Linked DNA regions of Homo sapiens: regions 1, 2, 3, 4 and 6 are each linked to region 5. The links are contacts of gene promoters, found by promoter capture Hi-C in blood cells and fetal thymus (Javierre and others, 2016). All regions are on one chromosome and are shown on one strand. The core of a region is centred on a gene start or on the middle of the fragment in contact, and the rest is flanking DNA. Distances in the headings are between cores, read along the strand shown.

Region 1 (2,828 bases), core at 25-2,524, 280 kb after region 5:
GAAGTTCTGGAGAAGAATCCACTTCACGTTCATTCAGGTTATTGGCAGAATCCATTTCCTTGTGGCTGGAGGTCTGAGGTCCTCATTCCCTCAATGGCTGTCAGCCAGGGGCTACTTTTTTTCCCAGAGGCCACCCCCATTCCCCTCCTCCTTCAAAGTCTGCTTTTCACGCTTCAGGTCTCTTGACTTCTCTGTTACCAGCTCAAGAGAACCCTTTGCTTTTAAAGGGCTCTTGTGATTGGATGAAGCCTACTTGGATAATTTCCCTTTTGCTGTATATAGTAATACCCCCTTTTCTGTAGGGGATATGTTCCAGGACCCTCAGTGGATGCCTGAAACCATGGATAGTACTGAATATATATATATATGATGTATACTGTGTTTTTTCCTATACATACATACCTCTGATAAAGTTAGTAAGTTGGGCACAGTAAGAGATTAATAATCAACAATAACAAAATAGAGCAATTATAACAATACACTATAATGAAAGTTACAGGAATGTGGTCTCTCTTCTCTCTCTCAAAATATCTTACTGTACTGTTCTCACCCCTCATCTTGTGATGCTGTGAGATGATAAAGTGCCTATGTGGGGAGAGGTCGTGGCAGTTGATCTGATAACCAAGATAGCTACTAAGTGACAAACAGGCCGGGAGTGGAGACAGTGTGGAGACGCTGGACAAAGGGACAATTCACGTCTCCGGTGGGATGGAGCTGGATGGCGCAAGATTTCATCACATTACTCAGAATGGTGCATAGTTTAAAACTATAAATTGTTTATTTCTGGAATGTTTCTGGCATTTTCCATTTAATAGTTTTAGGCTATGGTTGGCTGCTGGTAACTGAAACTGCAGATAAGAGGGAGACTTCTGTAATGTAACAAGATCAGGAGCAACACCAGGGGACAAAGGTCACAAGACCACCTTAAAATTCTGCCTGCCACTTTCTTCACCGTATGGCCTAGTGACCTCGTGCAGGTGACATAATCTCTCTGAGCCTCTTTCTTCATCTGTCAGGTGGGGCCAGTGAAAAGTTTTGATAGAAATCAGGTGAGGCAGTAAGTGCCTCTGCAGTGTTTGGTGAGGTTTTTTTGTTTTTTTTTTTTAAATCCTTCCTTTCTTGAGCCAGTTTGATTTGAAATCTCTCTTATCTGATTCAGATACAACAAAATTGTGAAGGGCCATCTTTGTCTGAAGTACTCGTCATTCTAAAAAGTTGTTATGACTCGCTGTTTTTTTTCTGTGCAGAGGAGTAAGAAGAAACAAGCTGGGCAACATGCCCTCGTCCAAACCTTTCTGGTCTTTACTTCCTCCCCTCACCCCCCACCGAGTCTGCTTCAGCTGCTGTCTCTGGGAGCCTGGAGGGTGGGGGCCAGGGAGCTCTGCTTGTGTCCCCAAGCACGTGGTGGCTCTGGTCAGAGGCCGGCCCAGCCAGCAGCTGGCCCCTGCCACTCAGCAGGAGGCCAGCCTGAGGCTGAGGGGCTCCCGGCCCAGCCGACTGCTCACCGCCTCTCTGCCTGTCCCTCTGTCCCCTTAGGAGATCCCCCGAGACCTCACGCTGGATGCCCTGCTGGAGATGAATGAGGCCAAGGTGAAGGAGACGCTGCGGCGCTGTGGGGCCAGCGGGGATGAGTGTGGCCGTCTGCAGTATGCCCTCACCTGCCTGCGGAAGGTGACAGGCCTGGGTACGTGGGGCCTGCCACCCTCTCCCTTGCCTGGCCTGGTGCCCTTGGGGCTGTGGCCTTCACTATGGTGGGTGATGGAGCGGGGCAAGCGTGGCCCAGGGTTTCTGGGGCAGCCTGGAAAGGCCAGGGTTGGATGTTCACAGCCTCCTGAGAAGCTCTCCCAGGGTCCTCAGGGCTCTGGATCCTGGTGGGTCTGGCCAGGCCGAATCTGAGGGGTTTCAGCCATGGTTAGAAATCCCAGGCCTGTCTGCTGGGCTGGGCTGGCCTGGCATGGTTTCCTCTCTGTTGAGGGCTCTGTGTACCCTCTGCCAGCTTCCCACATTCCAGCCCCCAGCCCTCTCCCCGTCTTCTCCTGTCCCCATTGCTGGCTGGGTTCTGTGCTCAGAAGGCACATGCTGATGTGGGCCTGAGCCAAGGGTGATTAGGGAAACTCTATGGCTCTTTAGCTGGGAGTGTGTACGTGGCTGTCCCAGGCAAAGTGTGTAATCCTGGCCTTGCCACGAGGTCCTTGGGAATTATTCACAGGCTTTCTAAATCTTGCGTCGGAAACAGCTTCAAATGCCTGACTTAATGGTCCCACTACCACATAGATAAGGCATTAAAATAAGCCTCATGAATGGAATCAGGCCTGGTTTTTAATTATCTGAGGCCCCTGTCTTATCTCCGTCTGCCTGAGGCTTAAGGAAGGCACCAAGGTTTATATTCTGCCTGGTTTTTTCTTCCCAGAGAGGATCGGGCTTAATTTCCTCTCTGCCCTCATTGTATCAAGTCCTCTGAACACGGCACAGTGTAGAAAGTTGCACTCAATTCAGAAAATCTTGACCTGCCAGGTCTCCCGGCAGATGCTGAAAATAAACACAACAGAAGTGTGGCTGGTGTTCTTGTTCTCACATATTACAGGAGACTGAGCTCAGAGAGGGAAAGGGCTTGGGTAAGGGCACACAGCAGTTGGTGGCTGAGCCAGAATTTGAACCTTGGGCCCTGATGGCGATTGGTTTGTCCCCATGCTTGCCACCCAAGCTGAGATCTTTGGGGTAATTTGTCAGCCCTTCTTTGCTTCCTCCTTATGCCTGGATTTTAAAGAATTGTGGAAGAGTCAGCTTTTAAGTGGTAGTGACCTATTTGTGTCATGCAGGCTGCTGTC
Region 2 (2,731 bases), core at 222-2,721, 300 kb after region 5:
ACCAACTCCTGTGGTCATCTTCTAGAAAGTTCTTTCTAGCTCCAGAATTCTTACCCCTCCAAAATGGCAGACCGCACTAGCCCAAGCCATCACCTCTTTCAGGGTTTTGTAGTTTGACTCTAAGACTTCACAGTGCCTTTGATTCAGCCAGGTTTCCAAAGAAAAGGACTGTACACCTCTCGCTTATCATTGGTCTCCCTACTTCTGGCAGAGTGCCTGGTGCCTAGCAGACATGATATAACATTTATCAGAGCCTGAACTTAATTCATTATAAAATGCTAATGTGTGCCCAGCTCAGAGCCAGTCACTGAGTATGTGACGGTCACCCTGGCCTCATGGAACACACAAGGTAGTGGGAGAGACTTTCATCAGGAAAGTGCCCGTGGACATCTGCAGTAGACACGGTGCCCTGATGAAAAACTGCTGGGAACTGTGCCAGGATGGAGAGGAGGAGCGTGGTCCCAGCCAGGGTGCAGGAAAGGCTTCTGGGAAGAGTGTGCTTGAGCTGAAATCAGAAAGCTGAGCAGGAGCCCCCCGGGGAGTGAGCACTGAGGCGAGGGCCTCTGTGCGCTGCCCTTCCTCAAATGTTAGATGTGTAAAATGTCAGACCCTGAGGATTCCCTGGGCTGACTGCTTCCTTTCCAGATGGGGAAGGGAGGGTGTGGCTGGTGGGAGGCAGGTGGGGCCAGGACAGCCCTGCCATTCCCAACATCTCTGGTCCTGCAGGAGCACCCTCCGGCCATGAATCACCTGGACTCCAGCAGCAACCCTTCCTCCACCACCTCCTCCACACCCTCCTCACCGGCGCCCTTCCCGACATCATCCAACCCATCCAGCGCCACCACGCCCCCCAACCCCTCACCTGGCCAGCGGGACAGCAGGTTCAACTTCCCAGGTACCACATCTCCAGGCTTTTCTGGGTTCTAAGGGATACAGTCAGATCCCCTTCTCAGCAGACCCAAGTTCGGCAGATTCAAGGTCAGACATGGCCACAGCTAAGAGCTGATGTTTATGAAGTACTTGTCCGGCGCCCCAAGCACAATAGCTCTGAGGTTGATGCTGTTGTTTTACAGATGGGAATACTGAGGTTCAGAGAGAGGGAGGGGCTTGCCATGAGTTGTACAGCCTGTAAGTGGCAGAATGGAGATCAAACCCAAGTCTGTCTGACATAACATAATCCTCGCACTGCCCTCCTCTTCATGGGGTGGCCTCTCCTGGGCAGTGCTCACTTTCTCGGGACTGGCTTCTGAGCTCCCAGGAGGCATGGCCAGCAACACAGGGAGCTAGAAGGCCTCAGGGAGGGAATCTGGGGTCCTGCTGCTTCCCACTCGTGATCTGGGTAAGCTCCTTCAAGGAGACCTCTCGTTCCCTTTATAAGATAGGTGACCATGTAAAGTTGGAATTAGGTTGTTCCCATTGTGTGGATGAAGACACTGAGTCCCACAGGAGTTTAAAGCAGAGTAGACCTGAGCCAGAGCTGACCTCCAGCTCCACCCCAGCCCACTGCCTGGTGTCTGTGGGGAGAGGTCAGGATTCCAGCCTCTCCTGCCCTCAGCTGCTGGCCTGGGGGTGTCTGCCTCTCCAAGCAGCAGAGTGAAGCCCACCTGCCCATTTTGGGACTGAGCTGCTGCCTCGGCCTCCCTGGCAGCTCCTCAGAGTCAGTCTCAGCCTTCAGTTTATTACAGTTCGCAGTCCCAGAGGAAGGAAGGTGACTGTGACACTCCTGTTTGCTCTGGACCCAGCCACAGGCCGTCTCCAGCCCATAGAGTCCAGGTCAGGCCCCTGTCTCTGGCCTCTGGAGCTCCAGGTCCATGAGGACAGGCACAGCTCTCCCTGTGCCAGGAGATCCCCAGCTGGAGCCATACCCAGCCAGCAGGAGGCCAGGGAGCTTCTCCTGGGACTTCTTTTGGGGACGGTGGAGACGGAGATCTTGTAGGAATCTCTCTCTTTGCCTTCACCTCAGCACGCACGTGGCTGGATATCTCCTGACATTCACGCGTTGTCCTGAGCACACCCCTCCCCTCCCTGCATTGAGTGATGGCCCATTTGATTAACCTCCTCTCCCATTCTGCTCTGTCTTTATTATGCTCTGAAACTGTGCCTTTTGCTAAACCTCCCAGTTTGGGTTTTTGTAAAAGCAAAGGGTGTGTTTGGAACACGGCAGTCACAGAAAAAGTTCTTTTTGCACAATCAGCCAGACCCTTGCTGCTTTCCCTGATGTCCCCAGATTGGGCCTTCATCGTCCCCTGCACAGAGGCCTCACTCTCTCCAAGATCCTGTCTCTTTGGTCGTGGCAGCACCAATGGGTCAACCCTCCCCCCAACCCCCACTGCCCGCCCGGCTGGCCCGGTGGTTCAGCTGGAGAAGGCACGCCTCCTATCGTCCCCTGCTCTGTGCTGTGCAGGGGCATTGCACTTGAACTTCAGGGGTAAACCTGGGAAAAGATTATAGTCACGTGCTGCTTCACAACGGGGAAATGTTCTGAGAGAGAGATTCCGTGATTTCATTGTTACGTGAGCATCATAGAGCGCACTTACGTAAACCCAGATGGTATAGTCCTCCACACGCCTCGGCTGTGTGGTGTAGCCTGTTGTTTCTAGACTGCAAACCTATGCAGCATGTGACTGTACTGAATATTGTAGGCAATTGTAGCACAATGCTAAATATTTGTGTATCTAAACATCTGAACACAGAAAAGCTACAGTAAATATACAGCATAAAATATTAAAAA
Region 3 (2,917 bases), core at 4-2,503, 270 kb after region 5:
GGGATGGGATCTGTTGGAGCCAGTGGGCCAACTCATCCTGGGTAGTCAGGGAAAGACGGATGTCCGGGAAGGCAAGAGCACACCAGGCGGAGGGAAGAATATCTGCAGAGACCCTGAGGATGAGGAAATCAGAGCGCTTGTGAAGCGCGTGAGGAGGAGTCTGTGAGGAGGCTGGCGGGGAGCCGGGGTGGATTCCTGCAGCTCTCCCTGTGTGCAGTGTAGGGGTTGGGGCTCCTCTTAGGGGATATTGGAAGTGTGTGTGAGAGAGGGGCAGGAATTCCAAATGAACATTAGAATTGTTTAAAGGAAAATAAAACTAGCAAGAAGGCTGCATTCACATGGGGATGGGCTGAGAGTGACGGGGTGAGGAGCGCTGCCTCCCACGTGGCTGGAGGGTGGAAGGGTCGGGGATAGGAAATGAGATGGGAGGGAGCTCAGAGGCGGGGCCCTGCCCCGCTCCCAGTCATTTGGATTTGCACACTATGGCTGTTTCAAGCGGCCCCCTGTCCCACAAGTTACGTCTAAAAGTCTCAGCTTCATATTCTGGCAGCAGCTGGGGAAATGATTTCAGAGCCTGCTGGCATGGAGCCATTTTTTTTTTCTTTAGCAATTTCCCGGTTGGAAGTTGTTGAAAGGAAGTGGCAAGCGCTGCCTGAGCAGTTCTAGCTGGGAGAGGTGGGTGCTGCAGAGTCTGGGATTCCAGGGTGAAAGCCACAGGTTCCCCTGAATAAGCTCTTACTGCTGGTGGTTCCTGAACTGAAGATGCAGGCGGATCTGGTAAGGGGATTTTTGTTGTGATCCTGACTGGACATGTTTCTCTTTCCGCTCTCCTCTACCCTTGCGTTCCTGTGTTTAAGATGAGGCCTTCTCCCAGAGATGGGGGACAAAGCTGCCTTACTCCTGCCACCATTTTGGTTTCCCAGTGGCTGGGGGTGGCCAGAGCTCTGTGTGGACACCAGGAATGTAGGCTGTATGAGGCAGTAGGATGTGTGAGACCTAACCAGGAAAGCGAACCCGCATTTGGCTCCTGGGGTGCAGCTTGAGTCGGCATGACTATGGCCCTCATTCCTAGCCTCTCCTTCCCACCCCTCCTCCTGTCGGCCCCATACTCTCTCTTTGAGAGCCAGAGGCCCAGCTGTTCTTACAACCTTGCTCTTTGGCAACTGGGAGCCTCCCCAGGAAGCAGCACACACCCTCACCCAGCCTCCTGGAGGGATCTGTGCCAATGTGTCAGCCCAGCAGCACAGGGCTGCCTTGGTACCAGCCCAGTGGGGGCTGGGCCACACAGCTCTCCACTTAGGATGGGGAAATGGTGGCAAGTGGTGGACTGGCATGCCTGTATCACCTGGCCAGTCAGGAGAGGAGCTGAAGTTGGAGCATGGAAGGAAGGGGCAAGCTACAAGGCCAGCATTGTATAGATGTCATCCTGTTTCATCCTTATCCCTGGGACAGGAGACAGGGAGATCTGATGATCCCCTGCAAGCTGATGGCAGGATGAAGATTCAAACCCAGGTCCTTGTACTTCCTTCTCATACACAATTTTGTCATCTAATATCTTACCCAGAATAGCACAGTTTTGGGGCTACTGTATGATATGTAGTTGTGTAAATGAATTGACTGCCTGCCTTTGTGTGTGTGCACGTGTGTCTCTCTCTTCCCCCCTCATTTCTTCTTTCCTTTACATTCACTCGTTACTCATATGCACCCATTGATCACTTACCTTTTACCTGGTACCTTGATTAATTATCACAGAGGATTAATTGATGAGCAAAATAGTCTGTCCTGGATGCTTACAGCTAGTGTGATGCACACGTCTGCAAATAACTAGGGTGCGTAGCTGACTGCTGGCCCCAAGGAGCGGGGAAGGGATGAAGCATGGTCAGGTACAGAGCTGAGGTCCTACTTCCATTCAGTTATTTATTCACTCACTCAGTGTGTATTTAGCACCTGTTGTGTGCTCGGCACTGTTCTAGCCACTGAACATGAGTTCCTGTCCTTCTGGAACTGGCAGACATCACTTTCTCCAATAGATGAAGTCATTAATTTTTCTTATCTTGAGCCAAAGGTACCCACTTTTCAGGGTGGGGGTTCCCCTGGTTTCATGAAATCTGAAAAATCATGAGCATGAATGTCCTGCTTAGTCCTGTACTGCTTGGTGTTTGTTTGTTTGTCTGTTGTTTGTTTGTGGCAGAGTCTCGCTCTGTCGCCCAGGCTGGAGTAGAGTGACGCAATCTTGGCTCACTGCAACCTCCACCTCCCGGGTTCAAGTGATTCTTGTGCCTCAGCCTCCTGAGTAGCTGAGACCACAGGAACATGCCACCACACCCGGCTAATTTTTGTATTTTTAGTAGAGACGGGTTTTTTCCATGTTGGCCAGGCTAGTCTTGAACTCTAGTCCTCAAGTGATCTGCCCGCCATGGCCTCCCAAAGTGCTGGGATTACAGGCATGAGCCACCAGGCCCGGCCTTGCTTGGTGTTTTTGATCAATCCTTTGGATTTCTGGGCTGCCCAGTCCAGTGAAAACTGACTAGACTAGAAGCACCATGTTGGCAGGGACCTGGCTATTTCATTCACAGCTCTATCCCCAGTGCCTGGCATGTGGTGGGTTTTCTTGTTGAATGATTGGATTCAAATAACATTATCCAAAGAATTTTGGTCTCTTGGCCCAAGGCGTCTCAGGAGCTCTCACCTGGGCCAGTGAAGGTTGCGTTACAAGGATCTCTGGGGAGGGTGAAGACGAGGTGGCTGCCGGTGGCCTGCTGAATCCCAGGGCTCCGAAACTGCCTCAGGCTTCTGTCGGCCACAGAACTTGAGCAGGACTGTGTGCCTATAGCCCTGCCATGAGATGGCTTTGGTGTAGTGTGTGCCTGAGCCCCCTCTGGGGACTACCTGGCTCCTGAGTGGTCAGCTTGTGTGT
Region 4 (2,714 bases), core at 127-2,626, 330 kb after region 5:
CCCCAAAGGTGGAACTGAAGGACTGGGGGCAGCTGGCTCTCAGCCTGCCACCTCTGCACTGCCTGCCTTTAAAGAACCCCACCCCACCCCATGATGGCCCCCTCTGTTCCCCTTGTATTTCAGTGACTGTGAATTGAGGTTAGGAAGGCACACCTGCCCTTCTGTGTGCTCTCTCCACACGAAGGATGACAGATACTGTGAATTCAGCCCTCACGGCCAACTGTGAAGGGGATGGAGAAGGCTGGGAGGGCTCGGGGAGAGCTCTTAGGGGCTGCGGAAGTCCCCACGGGGGTCTGAGAGTGGAGCCCAAGCTTTGGCCCTCCAGGCATCCCCAGTTTCCAGCCTCACCTCTGAAGCCCTGCTGCCTTTAACCACCAGAGCCGCAGCCCCCTGGGTTTCTGTCTAACTCGAAGTCTTGAATCCTAGCTAGTTTGGGGTTGTGAGCAGTGTGTAGCAAAGTTGATCTCTCCATGTCACCAAATCAAAACACCCTCTGTCATCCTACGGCATTTCCTCTTGAGGTCACAGAGAGGAATGGCAAGCCCTGGAAACCTGTGTTATTCTGTGTTGATTTGGTGTGGGGGGAGGGTGGAGACGTAAATGTGAAGCCAGTTGGAGTTTGTGCTATGCAGCAGTGTTAGCCAGGATCTCATCAGCGTGCAAACCTAGCATCTTCTGTGGCCACAAGCCACACACTTGCTTTTTTTGAATGTGATGTAAAATTTGTACAGTAAAGTTTTTATATTTTCTATCAACTACATTTGTCTTCCAGACATGCTATTAATTTAAATTAAAATGGTTAGTATTAACAAACATGCTGTATCGGGTTTTTTTGCCACTGGCAAGAACATGCCCTCTGTGCTAAGCCAGGCCTGGGTGTCTGGAGTTTGTGAATAAAGTTATACCAAGGTGTTCTGGGGCTTGTCTTTGCTTTGGTCAGTTCCAGCTGAGTCCTGGGGACCATTTGGATGGGTGGCATGGGAATGGATAGGTCTGGGGTGACTGAACCCCTGGTCTATAGATTAAGGAGCTCCTTCCAAAGGAAGAAGTTATGCCAGGACCTCAGTGGCAGGTGTTTCTAAACAGATGGAGGAATGGAGAAGGCACAGCGTCAATGGCCCACAATGCGCAGAGGAAGATCATCCAGGCCCCAGCAGCAACAAAGCCATGAGCAGGCCCAGCATCTCCTGAGCTGGAGATGCCTTAGCCTTATGGAAGCCTTGGAGGGATGAGGTGGTGTTCATCTGAATCCAATATCTAGGAGCCCCTCATTGCCAGTTATATATACAGATAGGTGGAGAAGAGGTACTTTCTAAACACCATCTCACTTTAATCCTCACAAGGCCATGAGGTAAGAATTGTGATGTTTCAGCTGAGGAAAATGAGAAACGGAGAGGTTAAGGTATTCACCCAAGATCACACAGCTGCAGGGTGGCCAATCCAGGACTCAGGCCACAGCTTTCACTCCAGAATCTCTCCAGAAGTCTAGGAATTTGCTGGTCAGACATTTACTGAGCACCTACTATGTTCATAAGACAGTGCTAGGTTGTGGAGCATTTTCCAGGATAGGCCGCGTGGTAGGCCACACATTAAGTCTCAATAGATTTAAACATAACATACAAAGCATCTTCTCCAACCACAATAGGATGAAGTTAGGCAGCGGCACTAGATTCTCATAGGGGCACAAACCCTATTGTGAACTACACATGTGAAGGATCTAGGTTGTGCGCTCCTTAGGAGAATCTGAGTCTAATGCCTGATGATCTAAGGTGGAAAAGTTTCATCCTGAAATCATTGTATATCCCTTTCCATCCGTGAAAAATTGCCCTCCATGAAACTGGTCCCTGGTGCCAAAAAGTTTGGTGACTGCTGCCTTAAACTACTACTGGATTTACTGAGTGAGGCAAACCAAGTACTGTTTTGTCATAGTCTGTTTACAGGAGAGAGTTGCACTGTTAATTTGCCATTAGGAAGCAGTTAGAACCATATATCTGACTTTATGGAGGTAGAATACGCTCAAAGAGAATGTTCTCAGTGGGGGGGATGTGCATGCATGTTTTAGTGATTAATGTGGTTCAGTACGGCTGTACCAATACAATGAGGTTTCCAAAGGGAACTGGACAAGACGACCCAGGGCCCCCTGCATTGTACGACAGGACTCAGGTGTCTGCGGGCATCACTGACTGCCCTGCCGAGGCCCTCTGTGCTGGAGGTGTCACTGCAGATGGAAGGATTCCTTCTTGAGGAAGTCTACTACTGGCGAAGGTGAATGGGTCTGGGCGCAGGATCAGTGCAGTCCAGGAGTGACTCTAAAGGTGCTGGTGTGTGGGCACTACGTGCGGAGCTCAGCCCCAAGTCCTTTTCATGCATTAGCCCATTTAATCCCCACAGCATCTCTCTAAGGTTCACATTCATTTGCCTCATTTTATGGGTGAGGAAAGGAAGCTTGGAGAAATTAAGGAACTTATTGAAGATCACACAAGAATTAAATGACAGGGCCAAGATTCAAACGTGGGCTATTTGTACTATCTATAGAATTGTATGTCTGGCCCACATTTTGTTGACCACTCATCCATTGATGGACATGCGTTGCTTTCACCTCTTGGCTTTTGTGAATGATGCTCCTACAAACATGGGTGTTCACATGTCTCTTTGAGTTCCTGTTTTTGGTTATTTGGGGGATATACCCAGAAGTGGAATTGCTGGATCATATA
Region 5 (2,791 bases), core at 274-2,773:
CCCCCTCCCTACTAAAAGGATGAAAAAAATTAGCTGGGCGTGGTGGCAGCCACCTGTAGTCCCAGCTACTCGGGAGGCTGAGGCAGGAGAATCGCCTGAACCCGGGAGGCAGAGGTTGCAGTGAGCCGAGTTGGCGCCACTGCACTCTGCTCTGGGAGACAGAGCAAGACTCCGTCTCAAAAAAAAAAATAAATAAATAACCAAAAAAAAAAAAAAGGAGGGGCGATGTTTTATTAAACATTTCGCTATTTGAAGAATTAATACACTCATGCAAAGAAAAGATGAAGTAAACATGCCCTACAGTGTTATCATTTGAGATCTCTTAAAAGCGGCTATGCAGCCGGGCGTGGTGGCTCACGTTGTAATCCCAGCACTTTGGGAGGCTGAGGCGGGCGGATCACTCGAGGCCAGGAGTTCGAGACTAGCCTGGCCAACAGGGTGAAACGCCCTCTGTACTAAAAATACAAAAATTACCCGGGCTTGGTGTCACATGCCTGTACAAATCCCAGCTACTGGGGAGGCTGAGGCAGGAGAATTGCCTGAACCCGGGAAACGGAGGTTGCAGTGAGCCAAGATCACGCCATTGCACCCCAGCCTGGGAGAAGCGAGACTCCGTCTCAAAAAAAAAAAAAAAAAAAAAAAAAAAAGCGGCTATGCAACACTCTACTCTGTCCCATGAATATCTGCCACATATTTGAATTCCCAGTCTTATACGCCCCAGGCCTTTGCAATGTTTAGGGTCCACACGAGAAGCCATTAAAATGCAAATACGTCATCTGTGACCGGGAACCAAGCTGGCATCTAGCAGATACTGACACATTTATCAGTCTGATGTGTGGACAACTAGGTGCCTCCCAGAGGCCTTCAGGTAAGGTGGAGGAAGGGCCAATTCTGAGCTGACACAGTGGGATCCATCTTGGCCAGGACAGTGGGATCCATCTTGGCCAGGACAAAGGCAGTCCAGAGAGGCCCCGCGGCGCGGTGCGGCGCGATCACGCCCGAGTCTCCTTCTCGTTCCCCTCGGCCCTTCCTAAAACCTGCTGGCTCAGGTCTGAACAATCGCAGCTGGACAGGTGGTGCACAACGATGTTAATTTTCATCCTGTCTTTTTCATCAGTGCATCCTTCAGTTCCCTATTACTTGTGGGCTGGGGAGTTGGCCAAATTGAGTGAAAACCTGAAATGTCTTTTTGTTCTTTTGGTTCAGCCAGTTTAAGTTCCATGCAATCTTTAAGCTAGGAGGCTAATAATAATACAATTCTCTGCTTGCCCTTTTCAAAGCCACTTCAGCTTATAAACTCCATATTAGACCATCCAGGCCCAGAAGACGCCACCGGCCTACAGGCAGAGTCAGCGGAACCAGCCTGGGCTGGATCTCCCCCTGCGAGGCCCCCAGGCAACGCCCGCGCCGGGCCGGGGAGATCACGTCCCGTGCGTCGGGAGGCGGGGGCCTCGGGCTGTGACGTCACGTGGCCGCGCCCCTGCCGCCCAGATATCTCCGGCGCCGCCCGCCATTTTGACTCCAGTGTCTCGTTTGCAGTCGGCGCTTTAGGGGAACTGTCTTCCTCCGCAGGCGCGAGGCTGGGTACAGGGTCTATTGTCTGTGGTTGACTCCGTACTTTGGTCTGAGGCCTTCGGGAGCTTTCCCGAGGCAGTTAGCAGAAGCCGCAGCGGCCGCCCCCGCCCGTCTCCTCTGTCCCTGGGCCCGGGAGGGACCAACTTGGCGTCACGCCCCTCAGCGGTCGCCACTCTCTTCTCTGTTGTTGGGTCCGCATCGTATTCCCGGAATCAGACGGTGCCCCATAGATGGCCAGCTTTCCCCCGAGGGTCAACGAGAAAGAGATCGGTGAGGATTGGGACCGTGGGTGGGCGCATGAGGGCCGAGGAGAGGCAGGGACTCCCCGGAGGAGGTTTGGGAGGAAGCGACTCCAAGTCTGAGGGAAGAGCTCCAGTGCGCCAGGGCCAGCCCACTAGCGAGGAGGAGGAAGCCGCCTCGGTGGGAGTTGGCTGAGGGGTAAACGGCACCGACGTGGATGCAGCACCTACTGTGCTCCCTCGCGGTTGCTGTGTGGCTGGGGCGGGCAAGGACCCCGGTTTCTTCGTCGGAGGTCCGCGCAGGGCTCTTGTCCTGGGAGTTCTTGGCTCAGGGCATGACTGTCGAGTGGACAGGGAAGGGCCACTCAGGGACTTTAGGTTTACAATGGGGAAAAGTAAACTTGTGGGTTGTAAGCGGTAATGAAAGGAGGGGGTCCTCGTGTGTACCAACCACTCTTAGATAGAAATGAGATGGAAGAGGTCCCAACAGCCTGGCAAAAGCAATACAGTATTTTTAAAATGGTGTGGCCTTAAGAAACGCAGCGGTTCGGGGGAGGAGACTTTTAGAATTATCTTTCAAACACTTAAGGGAGGAGCTGGGTGGTTGGGTGGAGTGACAGAAGGAAAGCTTTTGTGCGGAAGAGGAAACTCTGGAAAAGGCTTTTCTGGCTTAGTGTCTAGCCCTGGTCGGCTTAGTAAAGGGCAATTAGTGTTGAAGGTTGTGCGTCCACACCTACTTAGTGGCTCAGTGGAAAGCACGTCGCATTATTTAAATCCTCTTTTAAAGTAAAATAACTGGAACAACGTTTGACGGTGTTGGGGGGTGCTGTACATTGGCTGATAACACTTAGCAAACACTGATCTTACTGTGTGAAGTAATAATTAGCTGCGGCCGCTGAGCAGAGAGCATTTACATTTTCCTACTCTTGAAGTGAATGTGTGCCTTTACTAAGTACAAGGAGGAGTTATTTCTAGAG
Region 6 (2,908 bases), core at 384-2,883, 350 kb after region 5:
CCTTTGGCTTTTATGGAACCAAGTAAAGATATCATGGGCTTCTTCTCAGCTGACAGCCCAAATTCATGGGAACTGGTACAATCTTCCCCTTCCGCGTGGTGGCTGACCTGTCCCCCTTCTTCCGACAGCCGATGCCTTTCATCACCACCATTCTGGGAGGGCTGTACCCATCCAAGTCCATCCTCCTGTCAGGCACTGTCCTGCCCAGTGCTCAGAGGTAAGCCAAGGGCTCCAGTGACCTCTGGGAAGAGAGAGCCCTTCAAGGTCAGTCCAGCCATTCCCCTGGCTTCAGGAAGGCTACTGATGATGGGGAGGAAATGGGACTCAGAATTCGGTGGATAAAGGTTCAGGTGGGCTGCCCACCCCAGGTTCCACATCAACCTGTGCTCTGGGAACCACATCGCCTTCCACCTGAACCCCCGTTTTGATGAGAATGCTGTGGTCCGCAACACCCAGATCGACAACTCCTGGGGGTCTGAGGAGCGAAGTCTGCCCCGAAAAATGCCCTTCGTCCGTGGCCAGAGCTTCTCAGTAAGGCACCGCAGTCTGGAGCTTGGAGAGGCTCCCATGGGTGCACAGGGGGAGGGGGTAAAGGAGGTTTGAGGTACCTTGAACAGTATGGGGGCTGATTCCTCTGGGATGAAGGCCCAAAAGAAGAGAAGGTGGCCAACAAATTATTATTATTATTACTGTCCCGCATGAAGGAAGTGCTGGGATCTGCTTTTTCAGATGAGGAAACAAACTCACAAGTGCAGGTTACTTGCTTGTGGTCACACAGTCAGTAAGTGTCAAATCAGACCCAAGAAGGAGGTGTTATTCATTTCTTCATTTACTCAACAACCATTTTCTTGTCGCCTGCTTTGCGCAGGAAGCACCCCACATGCTGGGGGCACAGTCATGAAGCACACAGACAGGGTCCTGCCTCCAGGGAGTTTATAATTTAGGTGGGGAAAGAACAAGGAAAGTAAAGCATGGACAGATTGTCACAGATAACGACAGTGCCACGCACAAAGCAAAACAGAGCGATGAGATAGAGCGAGCCTGGGAGGGGCAGCTAGGGCCAACGTGCAGAGGCACGGGTGTGGCCTGTCCAGGAACAGCAGGCAGGCGTGCTCCACCCTGACTACATATTCAAATCACCCAGAGAGCTTACAAAGGAAATATCAGTGCTGGGACCCCAGCCCAGGCCAATGAGGCAGTCAGCTGGGCATTCGTATTTTAAAAATATGCCTTAAGTGATTATACTCTGCAGTCAGAGTTGAAAATGACTGATGTAGGGCTTTGCAGCCATGGAAAGGAGCTTGGATTTTAACACAGTGAAAAGCCTCAGGAGTGTTTCAAGCCAGGGAGCAACATACTTTGATTTGTAGACAGCTGTGTGACCTCGGACAAGTGACTTAATTATTCTGTGCTTCAGTTTCCTCATCTACAAAATGGAGCTAATAATCATGAATTTCCTAGAGTTGTAAGAATGGAATGAGACAGTATCTGTAGTATGCTTAGGACAGTGCCTGGCAGGTGGCATGTGTGATAGGAGTGTTAGCTATTGCAAAGGGAAGGAGGTTTTAACATTTGTACCCTGACTGCTTCGTGGAGAAGGCATTGGGGTGGAAAAGACAAGTTAGGAGACTGATGCTGCAGGAGCCCAGGCCCAGAGCACTCCTGTGTGCTGGGCCTGAGGGATACAGACGGCACAGGCCAGTGCTCCTGTCCCTGATGGGGTGGGAACAGTATTCTAGACCAGGGAACAGTACAGGGGAAAGAGCACGCACAGCCTGTTTAGTGAAGAGCCGTCGTTCAGTGGGGATAGAGTGCAGGTGAGGGGCTTATTAACAACTGAGGAGGGAGGGAGGGTGGGAGGGAGGGAGAGAGGAGGCTGCAGTGAGGGTGGAGGACTTCCCAAGTGTAGTGCAAACGGCATGATCTCTGCACAGGTGTGGATCTTGTGTGAAGCTCACTGCCTCAAGGTGGCCGTGGATGGTCAGCACCTGTTTGAATACTACCATCGCCTGAGGAACCTGCCCACCATCAACAGACTGGAAGTGGGGGGCGACATCCAGCTGACCCATGTGCAGACATAGGCGGCTTCCTGGCCCTGGGGCCGGGGGCTGGGGTGTGGGGCAGTCTGGGTCCTCTCATCATCCCCACTTCCCAGGCCCAGCCTTTCCAACCCTGCCTGGGATCTGGGCTTTAATGCAGAGGCCATGTCCTTGTCTGGTCCTGCTTCTGGCTACAGCCACCCTGGAACGGAGAAGGCAGCTGACGGGGATTGCCTTCCTCAGCCGCAGCAGCACCTGGGGCTCCAGCTGCTGGAATCCTACCATCCCAGGAGGCAGGCACAGCCAGGGAGAGGGGAGGAGTGGGCAGTGAAGATGAAGCCCCATGCTCAGTCCCCTCCCATCCCCCACGCAGCTCCACCCCAGTCCCAAGCCACCAGCTGTCTGCTCCTGGTGGGAGGTGGCCTCCTCAGCCCCTCCTCTCTGACCTTTAACCTCACTCTCACCTTGCACCGTGCACCAACCCTTCACCCCTCCTGGAAAGCAGGCCTGATGGCTTCCCACTGGCCTCCACCACCTGACCAGAGTGTTCTCTTCAGAGGACTGGCTCCTTTCCCAGTGTCCTTAAAATAAAGAAATGAAAATGCTTGTTGGCACATTCATGTGGGTTGACCATGGCTTCTTTAATTCATTTGGAGACATTTTGGAGTCTGTGGAATCGGGCGGGGGTGCTGCTGAGAGGAGTGGGATGGGAAAGCATGGACTCCCTTTGGGCAGGGGGTCCTGACCTCACACCTCCTCCCAGAGGGTCTCTTGCAAATCCCACGAGGGTGTTGGAGAAAGCAGGCTGGGGCTCTAGCCTTTTGGGCAGGAGTCTCGGACACAGGAAGGGTGGTAATGGGGGACACCAG

Evidence for each region. Contacts are between HindIII fragments. The CHiCAGO score rates a contact against its expected background, and 5 or more counts as called.
Region 1: a contact is called between a fragment that was not itself captured here and the fragment with the promoter of WSB1 in region 5, in 1 of 17 cell types (erythroblasts). The highest score is 5.6, in erythroblasts.
Region 2: a fragment that was not itself captured here is called in contact with the fragment with the promoter of WSB1 in region 5 in 17 of 17 cell types (naive CD4 T cells, erythroblasts, fetal thymus and 14 more); the score reaches 16.7 in naive CD4 T cells.
Region 3: a contact is called between a fragment that was not itself captured here and the fragment with the promoter of WSB1 in region 5, in 1 of 17 cell types (fetal thymus). The highest score is 5.2, in fetal thymus.
Region 4: a fragment that was not itself captured here is called in contact with the fragment with the promoter of WSB1 in region 5 in 12 of 17 cell types (non-activated CD4 T cells, activated CD4 T cells, neutrophils and 9 more); the score reaches 9.3 in non-activated CD4 T cells.
Region 6: a contact is called between a fragment that was not itself captured here and the fragment with the promoter of WSB1 in region 5, in 1 of 17 cell types (neutrophils). The highest score is 5.4, in neutrophils.

The regions. Positions count from the first base shown.
Region 1 is chr17:27,575,956-27,578,783 of GRCh38, forward strand. It overlaps KSR1 (kinase suppressor of ras 1), which reads left to right. Exons shown (of 21, transcript NM_001394583.1): 3 at 1,537-1,684. Among named protein-coding and RNA genes, the nearest start is that of LGALS9, 54 kb to the right of the region's middle. The HindIII fragment of the contact is 5,877 bases long and covers 1-2,828 here.
Region 2 is chr17:27,596,542-27,599,272 of GRCh38, forward strand. It overlaps KSR1 (kinase suppressor of ras 1), which reads left to right. Exons shown (of 21, transcript NM_001394583.1): 10 at 727-895. Among named protein-coding and RNA genes, the nearest start is that of LGALS9, 33 kb to the right of the region's middle. The HindIII fragment of the contact is 3,652 bases long and covers 1-2,731 here.
Region 3 is chr17:27,559,680-27,562,596 of GRCh38, forward strand. All of the region lies in intron 2 of KSR1 (kinase suppressor of ras 1), which reads left to right. Among named protein-coding and RNA genes, the nearest start is that of LGALS9, 70 kb to the right of the region's middle. The HindIII fragment of the contact is 5,852 bases long and covers 1-2,917 here.
Region 4 is chr17:27,625,524-27,628,237 of GRCh38, forward strand. It overlaps KSR1 (kinase suppressor of ras 1), which reads left to right. Exons shown (of 21, transcript NM_001394583.1): 21 at 1-912. Among named protein-coding and RNA genes, the nearest start is that of LGALS9, 4.3 kb to the right of the region's middle. The HindIII fragment of the contact is 2,134 bases long and covers 310-2,443 here.
Region 5 is chr17:27,292,591-27,295,381 of GRCh38, forward strand. It overlaps WSB1 (WD repeat and SOCS box containing 1), which reads left to right and starts at 1,524. Exons shown (of 9, transcript NM_015626.10): 1 at 1,524-1,845. The coding sequence starts at 1,806. It overlaps MIR4522 (microRNA 4522), which reads right to left and starts at 1,406; the gene lies at 1,320-1,406. RefSeq lists enhancers at 1,253-1,302, 1,673-1,732, 1,743-1,802 and a silencer at 1,343-1,552. The HindIII fragment of the contact is 5,795 bases long and covers 1-2,440 here.
Region 6 is chr17:27,646,902-27,649,809 of GRCh38, forward strand. It overlaps LGALS9 (galectin 9), which reads left to right. Exons shown (of 11, transcript NM_009587.3): 9 at 129-217; 10 at 369-531; 11 at 1,935-2,659. The coding sequence ends at 2,081. Among named protein-coding and RNA genes, the nearest start is that of LGALS9, 17 kb to the left of the region's middle. The HindIII fragment of the contact is 7,370 bases long and covers 1-2,908 here.